4 separate regions of the Homo sapiens genome follow, and all the other regions are linked to region 1. Evidence: promoter capture Hi-C in human tissues and cell types (Jung and others, 2019). All regions are on one chromosome and are shown on one strand. Each heading gives the region's core, a stretch centred on a gene start or on the middle of the fragment in contact. The rest is flanking DNA. Distances are from core to core; before and after follow the strand shown. Region 1 holds the start of UBAP1 (ubiquitin associated protein 1). Region 2 overlaps UBE2R2 (ubiquitin conjugating enzyme E2 R2). Region 3 overlaps UBE2R2 (ubiquitin conjugating enzyme E2 R2). Region 4 overlaps UBE2R2 (ubiquitin conjugating enzyme E2 R2).

The links. The method cuts DNA at HindIII sites, captures the fragments that hold promoters and counts their contacts. A contact is called where the count stands out against the background at its distance.
Region 2: a fragment that was not itself captured here is called in contact with the fragment with the promoter of UBAP1 in region 1 in 3 of the 25 tissues and cell types used here (mesenchymal stem cells, spleen and thymus).
Region 3: a fragment that was not itself captured here is called in contact with the fragment with the promoter of UBAP1 in region 1 in 2 of the 25 tissues and cell types used here (dorsolateral prefrontal cortex and hippocampus).
Region 4: a contact is called between a fragment that was not itself captured here and the fragment with the promoter of UBAP1 in region 1, in 1 of the 25 tissues and cell types used here (dorsolateral prefrontal cortex).

What each region holds. Positions count from the first base shown.
Region 1 is chr9:34,177,629-34,180,328 of GRCh38, reverse strand. UBAP1 (ubiquitin associated protein 1) reads right to left here and starts at 1,286. Exons shown (of 7, transcript NM_016525.5): 1 at 1,089-1,286. RefSeq lists enhancers at 1-321, 322-1,278, 1,044-1,473, 1,279-2,237. The HindIII fragment of the contact is 11,539 bases long and covers 1-2,700 here.
Region 2 is chr9:33,904,476-33,907,175 of GRCh38, reverse strand. All of the region lies in intron 3 of UBE2R2 (ubiquitin conjugating enzyme E2 R2), which reads right to left. Among named protein-coding and RNA genes, the nearest start is that of SNORD121B, 29 kb to the left of the region's middle. The HindIII fragment of the contact is 6,422 bases long and covers 1-2,700 here.
Region 3 is chr9:33,836,119-33,838,818 of GRCh38, reverse strand. All of the region lies in intron 1 of UBE2R2 (ubiquitin conjugating enzyme E2 R2), which reads right to left. Among named protein-coding and RNA genes, the nearest start is that of UBE2R2-AS1, 19 kb to the right of the region's middle. The HindIII fragment of the contact is 6,070 bases long and covers 1-2,700 here.
Region 4 is chr9:33,887,350-33,890,049 of GRCh38, reverse strand. All of the region lies in intron 2 of UBE2R2 (ubiquitin conjugating enzyme E2 R2), which reads right to left. Among named protein-coding and RNA genes, the nearest start is that of SNORD121B, 46 kb to the left of the region's middle. The HindIII fragment of the contact is 8,086 bases long and covers 1-2,700 here.

The DNA of each region.
Region 1 (2,700 bases), core at 37-2,536:
TGGTCAGGCTGGTCTTGAACTCTTGACCTCGTGATCCGCCCGCCTCGGCCTCCCAAAGTGCTGGGATTTCAGACGTGAGCCACAGCGCCCGGCCAATACGGAAACTTTTAGTTTAGGTTGGGACATTAACTAGAAAGAACTATATATCACTAAAGACTAAGTATCTTGTTTTTCCCACCATCAAATCTGACAAAATTAAAAAGGAAAACATCCATCATATCTATTCAAATTCTCAAATGCTAATAACTGAAGAGACAAAGCACTAACGAGTAAAGTTAGAACAGAATATACGTAATACTTAACTAAATTACCAAATCTGGTTTCGCAACACTGCATGGTGACTAAAAGTAACAATTTTTTTTTCAGTTTAACATAAAACGTATTTTTATGCCCAACCATACTTTTAAGACGCTAGTCTGGAAACAATTACATTTGGCAACAAAGGTCAAAGATCACTGATATAGCTCAAATAAATGAACCTGACGTTCCACAAGAAAGACTGGGGCGGTTCCTGAGGCCCAGGTGGACTGTATAGGTAAGCCTCCACCCAAGAAACAAAAAAGGCGGATAAACATACCTGGAGAAGACCAGACAAGGCCAAAGATATCCCCAAAGATCACTCACCTCTGGTCTAGTCTCCACCTTTTCTCCCCAATCTCATTGCCTCAGGGAGAACTAAATCTACACCGCACGTCCCCAGCTCACCCTCAACTCCCCACCACTCACCTTCTTTACTAAAATCTGGGTCCCCCTCCCTGACATCCTCTAGTTCCCACCGAGTTCTCAGTCCAGCCCGATAGATGTCTACTATGCCTGTCTTCCAGTAGGGTATTAGTCTCCTTAATCCGAACTCATTTTTCCGCATCCCACTTCCCCTCCGCCCCTTCAACTCCGGTCCCCTCACTCCGACCCTTCTCCCAGAATCCTCCCCGAATCGCGGATCTCCGGCCACTTTTCCCTCCCACCTCCTAGCTCCGGCGCCCTTCACCTCGCTCGGCCCCCCATCCCGTTTCCCAGTCTCCCAGTACCAGCCCCCCTCCCCCAACTCCGCCCCTCTTCCCCCTCCCCCAGAGGGAGGCCCCCCTCACCTGAATGCCGCTGCTGCCGCCGTCTCAGAAGCCGAAAGGTGCTGGCACCGGCCGGCCTCCCAGGCTCGGTCCCCGCTGAGCTCCCGACAGCCCCTAGGGAGAGCGAACGCCACCACCTCCAACTCTGCCCGCTCCGGGCCAGGCCGTCACCGTAGCCACCGCCAGTGCCGCAGCCGCCATGTTGAAGTCCTACTTCCCTCCTCCTTCCCCTCACCGCCCCACTCATTTGGGCGTCTGACGTCATGGCGCCGCGCTCCACACGCCCGGACCAATGGGAGGAGCCGACGGTGACATAACTAATCTCTCTTCTAGCGAGGAGCTACTCCGGCAACATGGAGCATTGCAATTGGAATGAGTAAACCCTGCTGACCTAAGGGGGAAGGAGGAAAGGAGGGGGTCACTAAGAGTGTAAGACTTGGGTTTGGCGAGGCGGCCAAAGCGGGAAACCCAAGAGCCTTGAATCGCGAAGGTATGCCCAAAGAGTTAGCAGCGAGTCCTATTTGGGAATTAAGACATCTAGCTTCTGTTCAGGGTCAGCGACCTGGTACAACTCATACCCTTTCTGGACCTCACTTTTCCCATGTATAGAGGACTAAGTTGAAAGGTGACTTCTAGGCCGGGCGCAGTGGCTCACGCCTGTAACTCCAGCACTTTGAGAGGCCGAGGCAGGAGGGTCGCTTGAGCCCGGGAGGTCGAGGCTGCGGTAGCCGTGATCGCGCCACTGCACTCCAGGTGGGCAACGGAACGCGACTCTGTATCAAAAGAAAAAAAAACAAAGGTGACCTCTAAGTCTTCCTTCAATTCTGACATTCTATGGGTTTAAACCAGGTAATCCTATCCCAAGCCTTCACTGCCTTCTGTGGGGGTTTTTGTTGTTGTTGTTGTTTCTGTTTGGGGTGTTTTTTGTTTTTTTGAGACAGGGTCTCGCTCTGTCGCCTAGGCTGGAGTGCAGTGGCGCGATGTTGGCGCACTGCAACCCTGCAACCTCCACCTGTCGGGCTCAAGTGATCCTCCCACCTCAGCCTTCTGAGTAGCTTGGACTATAGCCACATGCCAACACGCCCGGATAATTTTTATTATTTTATATATATATATGGAGAGACGGGGTCTCACCATGTTGCCCAGGCTGGTGGTAAACTTCTGGGCTCAAGCCTCAGTCTCCCAAATTGCTGGGATTGTAGGCGTGAGCCATGGCGCTGGCCTTCTGTGTCTTTCTATGTCTGCTGGAATTAGGAGACAGAGAATTATTAATTGAATAAGATGACTCTTGAGCCCAGGAGTTCAAGACCAATTTAAGCAACATGAGACCCCCGTCTCTACAAAAAGTTTGGTAAAAATTAGGTGAGCCTGGGCAACATAGTGAGACCTTGTCTCTACAAAAACTCAAATTATCTGGGCGTGGTGGCATGTGCCTGTGGTCCTAACTATTCAGGAGGCTGAGATAGGAGGATCACTTGAGCCTGAGAGGTCGAGGCTACAGTGAGCCAGGATTGTGCTGGTGTACTCCAAACATGGGTGACAGAGCAAGATCTTGTCGCAATAAAATAAAATAAAATAAAATGACTAGGCACGATGGCTAACGCCTGTAATCCCAGCACTTTGGGAGGCCAAG
Region 2 (2,700 bases), core at 171-2,670, 270 kb after region 1:
CTGAATAAAAAATAAGTTTGTAAACAATAAAAACCCTCAAAGAAAATGAAGACCAACACATCATATATAATATATATTGCAGACTAGCCAACAGCAAATCAAGCTGTGAAGTTCTGCAGAGCTCATATGTGTTTAAAAGACAAAGCAAACTTGGGTCTCACCCGGCCCCCAGGCTCCAGTGCAGTGGCAGAATTACAGCTCACTGAAGCCTTGACCACTTGGGCTCAAGTGATCTTTGCACCTCAGCCTCCTGAGTAGCTGGGACTACAGGTGCACACTACCATGCCTGGCTAATTTTTTTGGTAGAGATGGAATCTCGTCATGTTGCCCAGGCTGGTTTTGAACTCCTGGGCTCAAGCAATCCACCTGCCTTGGCCTCCCAAGTTGCTAGGATTAAGGACATGAGCCACTGCGCCTGGCCTAAAGAAGTATTTAAGGGAAATTGGAAATTAGGATTGTATGACCCAATGCGTAATACTCCATTTGCCCATTTTCAACATGTCGATAACCCTTTCTCTGTTAGCTACTATGTCACCATAAGCATAACTTTAACAGGGTTGTGATAGCCCTAGCATCACAAATAAGACCTGGCTCGAGGGTCTGCCTGGAAACCAAGCAAGAAAAGTTCATAATTTTGAAGGATTACAGACTGGCACCTTCCCCTGGTCCCACCTCCCATGTATATATCATCCCTCCAGACAGCATGGGAGAAGTAGAAAGGGCTTATTCCTAAAAACCAAAAAATCTAAGCTTATGCCAGGTGTGGTGGCTCACAAGTATAATCCCAGCACTTTGGGAGGCCGAGGTGGGCGGATCACCTGAGGTTGGGAGTTCAAGATCAGCCCGACTAACACGGAAAAATCCTGTCTCTACTAAAAATACAAAATCAGCTGGGCATGGTGGTGCATGCCTGTAATCCCAAGTACTTGGGAGGCTGAGGCAGGAGAATTGCTTGAACCCAGGAGACGGAGTTTGCAGTGAGCTGAGATCGCACCATTGCACTCCAGCTGGGCAACAAGAGCAAAACTCCATTTCAAAACAACAACAACAACAACAACAACAGCAACAACGACGACGACGACAACAACAACAACAAAACCTGAACTTACTTCACGCCATAATCATGGGCAAGCATGCATGTATGCACATGTGCACACACACAAACACACACGCAGATTGATTTAGATATTGAGTTTTATAGACCCAGCGTAATGTGATGACAGTTGATGTGTGAAGTCCAGGTCTCTGGAGCCAAACCTAAATCCTGCATACTGTTACTACCACTCTTACTGACTCTGGGTTCTACCCTGACCTTTCTAGTTGTCCTGGGTCCTTAAAATCTCTCATTTCCACTCTATCAAAGGATGGGCCAGTAACTACAGATGACTAGTTAAAGCTCAGTCCTCATTGCATGTTTCAATGTGGGGGAGGGATTTAAAGAGGACATCATGACAAAGAATAAAGAAGCCTGTTATGATAGGGAAAACAGGGCAACTGATGGTAAAATATAGTAGCTTAACGGGTTTACATTATTATAAAGTTTCTCTTTAGGCTGCTAAAGCAACCAACAAATATAACACCTCCTTCTGTGCAGTGCTGGATCTGCTGCTGACTGATGTATCCCTGAGAATGCAAGGTAGGAATACAACTACAGTTTTTAAATGCCCAAATTATGTATCATCTGCAGAGAATGGAATTGGCAGGTTGAGGGCAGTGGGACCCCATGCACAAAAACCAAGGAAGCAAATAAATAAAACCACACTGTTCCAGAATTGGGTTTAAAAGAGCTTTAGGAACAGCATGGTTATGCCTGTTTCCCCTGACTGTGCTTACTTTGGCACCCAATGCTAGGGGTGATGTCTCTGGCTCTCTGTTCTTAAGACTAGACAGAAAAATATCCTACCCCACTTCTGAGACAGACTCTTTTATACCAAACAACAGCCTCTCTTGATTGGGTTAATAAATTTGGTTTCACGCTTTATTTTTGAAATTGAAAAAGAAAACATTATGTATGCCTCTTTCAACATAAAGCAAATCCACACCAAGACCACTTCACCATCCCAGAGCCTATAGCAGATAGTAGTTCTGGGGATGGTGTCTCACAGAAAGCAGCTGTGAACTCTATAGCAAAGTCTGAGGGCTTTGCTACTCCCACTCCCACCCTACCCTATCCCCAAAGCTCCCACATCATTCTAGACAAATCATGTATTAAGGCACATTTTGTTTCCTCCATCAGGAAGAGGCATAATGCTGTGAACTTCTAATCAAAGACGTGTGGCAACTCCCAACTCCATTCTTGCTGACAAATGCCTACTCCTTAAAACTTTCCAATTCAGGAAGAAACTCTCCCCACCACCTCCAGCCCCACCAATTTAATCCTGGGCCTCTGGGAGGAGGAGGCCTGTGGATGTTTTCTTTCAAAAGAAGTATGCTGGTTTTCCCAAGAGGTAGCAAGCTACCGAGCCTTTAGTGAACACCAGTTGGCTGATTCTCTGCATCCCTAAAATTCTTCCTTTTCAGGTTGGCTAACTCTCACTACTCACCAGATCTGATAATACAGACTGACTTAGACTCTTGAAGGTAACTGGAGTCCCTTATTCTTCAAGTTACAAAAGTGCTCCATTTGCCACTTTATGTTATAAATATGTCCATTGAGGTGCTGAACAATAGTCTTGAGTACACGTGGTTATGGAGAAGAAA
Region 3 (2,700 bases), core at 133-2,632, 340 kb after region 1:
GAACCACCACGACTGGCCAGACCACAGCAACTATGTAAAACAATAATACTGTTGCTTTAGAGGTTTATAAGAAAATATACCATCAATAGGGCAAAGGACAAGAAGGAGGTAAAGAGCTAAATGTACGGTTCTTGCATTTCCTGGGAAGTAATAAAACCAACTAACATAAACTAAACTGTAGTAAATTAAGAATCCATAATCCACCTGTCTCAGCCTCCCGAAGTTCTGGGATCACAGGCGTGAGCCACCATGCCCAGCCAAGATATACACATTTTATTGTATGTACATACACCTCAATTTAAAAAAAAACTATTAAGCAGATTAACATTAGCAAACATCTCAGGAAAGTTTACCATGAAACACTTAAAATACAACTCAACGTGAAGAAAACAGTCCATGCAGGAAAAGTAAAATGTATTAAAAATGTATATATATATGTACATACATATATATAAACATTATATACGTATACACAGTAGGCCCTCCATATCCCTGGGTTCTACCAACAGTGGATCAAAAATATTCAAGCGAAAAAAAAACAAGAAAAAAAAAACAGTAAAAAAAGCAATAAAAAATAATACAAACTAAAAAATACAGCTAGACTGCCACTGCACTCCAGCCTGGGCAACAGAGCAAAACTCCATCTCAAAAAAATAAATTAAAAAAATAAAGCATATGGGAGAATGTGCACAGGTTAAATGTAAATACTATATCATTTTATATAAGGGACTTGACCATTCAAGATTTTGGTATCAGTGGGGGTCCTTGGAACTCCCCCTATGGATACTGAAGGACAACTGTAAATAATGGCTTATATATGAGACATATAATTACACATACATAAAACTATGTATACTTCTATATAAGCTATATATATTTACCTATATATCTGTATATACATGATGTCTTCAGGGAGTTAATAGGAGAAACGACAACCATGATCAAGACATCAAAACCAAGACATCAAAAACAGAATGTTGGCTAAGCCCAGTGGATCACACCTGCAATCTTAACACTGTAGGAGGAATGCTTGAGCCCAGAGTTTGAGACCAGCCTGGGCAACATATTGAGACACTGTCTCTATTAAAAAACAAGAACAGGCCAGGTGTGGTGGCTCTGTAATCCTAGCACAATGAGAGGCTAAGGCAGGTAGATCAATTGAGCTCAGGAGTTCAAGAACAGCCTGGGCAACACAGCAAAACCCATCTCTACTAAAAATATAAAAATTAGCTGGGTGTGGTAGCAGGTGCCTACAGTCTCAGCTACTTAGGAGGCTGAGGTGGGAGAATCTCTTGAGCCCAGGAGGCAGAGGTTGCAGTAAGCTATGTTCGCACCACTGCACTCCAGCTTAGGCAGCAGAGCAAGAGCAGACCCTGTCTCAAAAAAAAAAAAAAAAAAGAAGCAGCAGCTGCCTAAACTGAAAATAAGAGGCTGGGCACAGTGGCTCATACCTGTAATCACAGCACTGTGCATGGTCGGGGCTGAGATAAGAATATCGCTTGAGCCCAGGAGGCTGAGGCTGCAGTGAGCCTTGATCGCACCCCTGCACTCCAGCCTAAGCCACAAAGCAAGATTCTGTCTCAAAAACAAATAAAGGAAAAAAAAGAGAAAAAGATATGTTAATTAGAAGAATTAATTCAGACTGTTCTATATCCAGATAATGGGTGCTCCCCAAAAAACATGAGGAAAAACATAGAGGAGAAAATATCTTGAAATAATTCAAGAAAATTTCCCAATGCTGAAAAACATGAGTTTAAAAGTACCTACAGCAATGTGAAATTTAAGAAATCAGGGACACACAGAGTCCTGCAAACTTCCAGAAGAAAAAACTCTTCACATACCATGCACAGGATTTAGAACATTCTTGAATTTCAAACATCATCTTTGGAACTAAGAACCCAATACAGTAATGTCCTCGAAATTCTAAAGCTACAGGATTTCCAATCTAGAATTCTATACCCAGCCAAGTAATTTCAAGTATAAAGTTAGAATAAAGCTTCAAAAAATTTACCTGCTAGGCACACTTCCTCAAGAATATATATATATATATTTTTTTTTTTTGAGATAAGAGTCTTGCTCTGTTGCCCAGGCTGGAGTACAGTGGCATGATCTTGGCTCACTGCATCCTCTGCCTCCCAGGTTGAAGTGATTCTCCTGCCTCTGCCTCCCGAGTAGCTGGGACTACAGGCATGTGCCACCATGTCTGGCTAATTTTTTGTATTTTTAGTAGAGATGGGGCTTTGCCATGTTGGCCAGGATGCTCTCAAACTCCTGACCTCAAATGATCTGCGTGCCTCTGCCTCCCAAAGTACTGGGATCATAGGCATGAGCCACCAAGCCCAGCAAAATATTCTAAAATTGACTGTGGTGATGATTGCACAATTCTGACTAAAAACCACTGAATTACAGTCATATGTTGCCTAATGACAGGAATATGTTCTGAGAAATGCATCATTAGGCAATTTCATCATTGTGTGAACATCATACAGCATGCTTACACAAAAATGGTATACTTGTACCTAGATGGTATAGGCTCCTACACATCTAGGCTATATGGTATAGCCTATTGCTCCTAGGCTTCAAACCTGTACAGCATGTTACTATACTGAATATTGTAGGTGAGTAGCTGGGATTATAGGCGCCTCCCACCACGCCCAGCTAATTTTTCTATATTTTTAGTAGAGACAGGGTTTCACCATG
Region 4 (2,700 bases), core at 140-2,639, 290 kb after region 1:
AGAGGTGTTTGGGAATTAGATAACTGAGATGGAAATAGTATGTATATGGCTTTAAGAGCAATTAACTCTCTGCTGGGTGCGGTGGCTCACGCCTGTAACCCCAGCACTTTGGGAGGCCGAGGTGGGAGGATCACAATCAGGAGTTAGAGACCAGCCTGACCAATATGGTGAAACACTGTCTCTACTAAAAATACAAAACTTAGCTGGGTGTGGTGGTGCACACCTGTAGTCCCAGCTACTCAGGAGGCTGGGGCAAAAGAATCCTTGAAGGGAGGCAGAAGTTGCAGTGAGCTGAAATCATGCCACCACACTCCAGCCTGGGTGACAGAACGAGACTCCATCTCAAAAACACAAAAGTAATTAGCTCTCAATTGCAAGACAAAAGTTTGCTCCTTCTCACTTCTCTCTTGCTATCTAAAATCTATATATACACCACGTAACTGTAAAGGCAAAAACCTTTAATTATTAGACAGGGACATTGTTATGGTCTGAATTTTGGTGTCACCCATGAATGGGATTAGCACCCTTATGAAAGAGGCAAGAGAGGGCCGGGTGCGGTGGCTCACGCCTGTAATCCCAGCACCTTGGGAGGCCAAGGTGGGCAGATCATGAGGCCAGGCAATCGAGACCATCCTGGCTAACACGGTGAAACCCTGTCTCTACTAAAAATAAAAAAAAAGAAAGAGGCAAGAGAGAACTGCCTTGCCTCTTCTCCCATAAAGATGCAACAAAACAGGCTTGAAAAACAAGCCCTCAACAGACCAAATGTGCTGGTGGCTTGGTCTTGGAATTCCCAGCCTCCAGAATTGTGAGCAATAAATTTCTGTTGTTAATATATTATCCAGTCTAAGCAAATGTACTAAGACAGACACCAAAATACTGCTGTGCGTACTGAACTCAGTTTGAACTTAGGAAACAATGAATTATTTCTACAGACTCTTTCCTACAAAAGGAAGATAATGTTGTTACACAGAACAGTGTAGTCACTATTGTTTATTTATATTATGTCAAATATTAAACAATATTTAGAAAGCTTATTTCTAAAAAGAAAACTATATATCATTTCAGTACCAGTCTGTTCTGTCTGAAAAAGAAAAATTAAGATATCTTACATAAGAAACAGACTGTGGAAAATGACACAGCTGCCCCAATGTGCTCATTTATACAGAATGAACTCCAAATTCAAGACCCTAGAGCGAGTTCTCCATTTCTTGCCTAAAAGCAATTTAAAGGTGGCCGGGCATGGTGGCTTACCCTGTAATCCCAGCACTTTGGGAGGCCAAGGCAGGTGGATTACTTGGGGTCAGAAGTTCGAGGCCACTCTGGCCGACATGGTGAAACACTGTCTCTGCTAAAAATACAAAAATTAGCCAGGTGTGGTCGTGCACACCTGTAGTCCCAGCTACCCAAGAAGCTGAGACAGGAGAATCGCTTGAACCCAGGAGGTGGAGGTTCAGTTAGCTGAAATCGCACCACTGCACTCCAGCCTGGGTGACAGAGATTCCATCTCAAATAACAAATAAATAAATAAAATAAAAGTAATTTAAAGGTGATGTTAGCTCAGTTTCTGGAGCAAAGGTACTTCCAACATCCACAGGGCCAAAAAAAAGAACTGATGCATGACTAAGATGGCAAGACTCTAAAGCAATTTCAATGCTTGGGATGCTGCTACGAAAAAATGAGACCACTGCAAAACCATATTGCAAATAAAAGATTACAGAATTTTTTTTTGTTTGTTTTTTTGTTTTTTGAAATGGACAGAGCTGGCAGGCAGAAAATAAGTAAAGACATAGCTGGACTCAGCAACACCATTCTTCAAGTGTATATAATGAGCATTATAGACTACTACACTCGTAACTGCAGATTACACATTGTTCTTGAGTTCACATGGAACTTTCATGAAGATATACCACATTCTGGGCCATAAGGCACATACTGACAAATTTTTAAAAATAGAAATCATACAATGTCTGCTTTCAGATCACAACGGAATTTAACTGGAAGTTCCTAACAGAAAGATACCTGCAAAATCCCCAAAACATTTGGAGATTTAAAAACACACTTTTAGAATAGTAGGCCAGGCGCGGTGGCTCACGCCTGTAATCCCGGCACTTTGGGAGGCCGAGGTGGGTGGATCACGAGGTCAGGAATTCAAGAACAGCCTGGCCAACATGGTGAAACCCCATCTCTACTAAAAATACAAAAATTAGCTGGGCATGGTGGCGCATGCCTGTAATCCCAGCTACTCGGAAGGCTGAAGCAGGAGAACTGCTTGAACTGGGAGCCGGAAAGCAGAGGTAGCAGTGAGCGAGATTGCGCCACTGCACTCCAGCCTGGGCTACAGAGCGAGACTGTCTCAAAAACAAACAAACAAACAAACAAACAAACAAACAAACAAACAAAAAAGCACACTTATAGAATAGTGAAGAGTAGCCTCAAAGGAAAAAAACTAGCGGGCCCTCATATATCAACCTGAGAAACAGAATGCATTATTCTAGTATCCTTATGGATTAGCCCAAAGCTAAGTACGTTTCATCAACAAAGCTAGAAATGCTTCCCCCAGGCATGTGCACTTGTCTAGTACAAGAACCTCACCTTGAATTTATTCCAAAAGAGCCTCCCAAATGTTCAGCAGCAATTCCTAAAAGGAGGCCAGTCCAAATGTAATGGGATAAATCCCGCTCCCCCTACCAAAAGCTG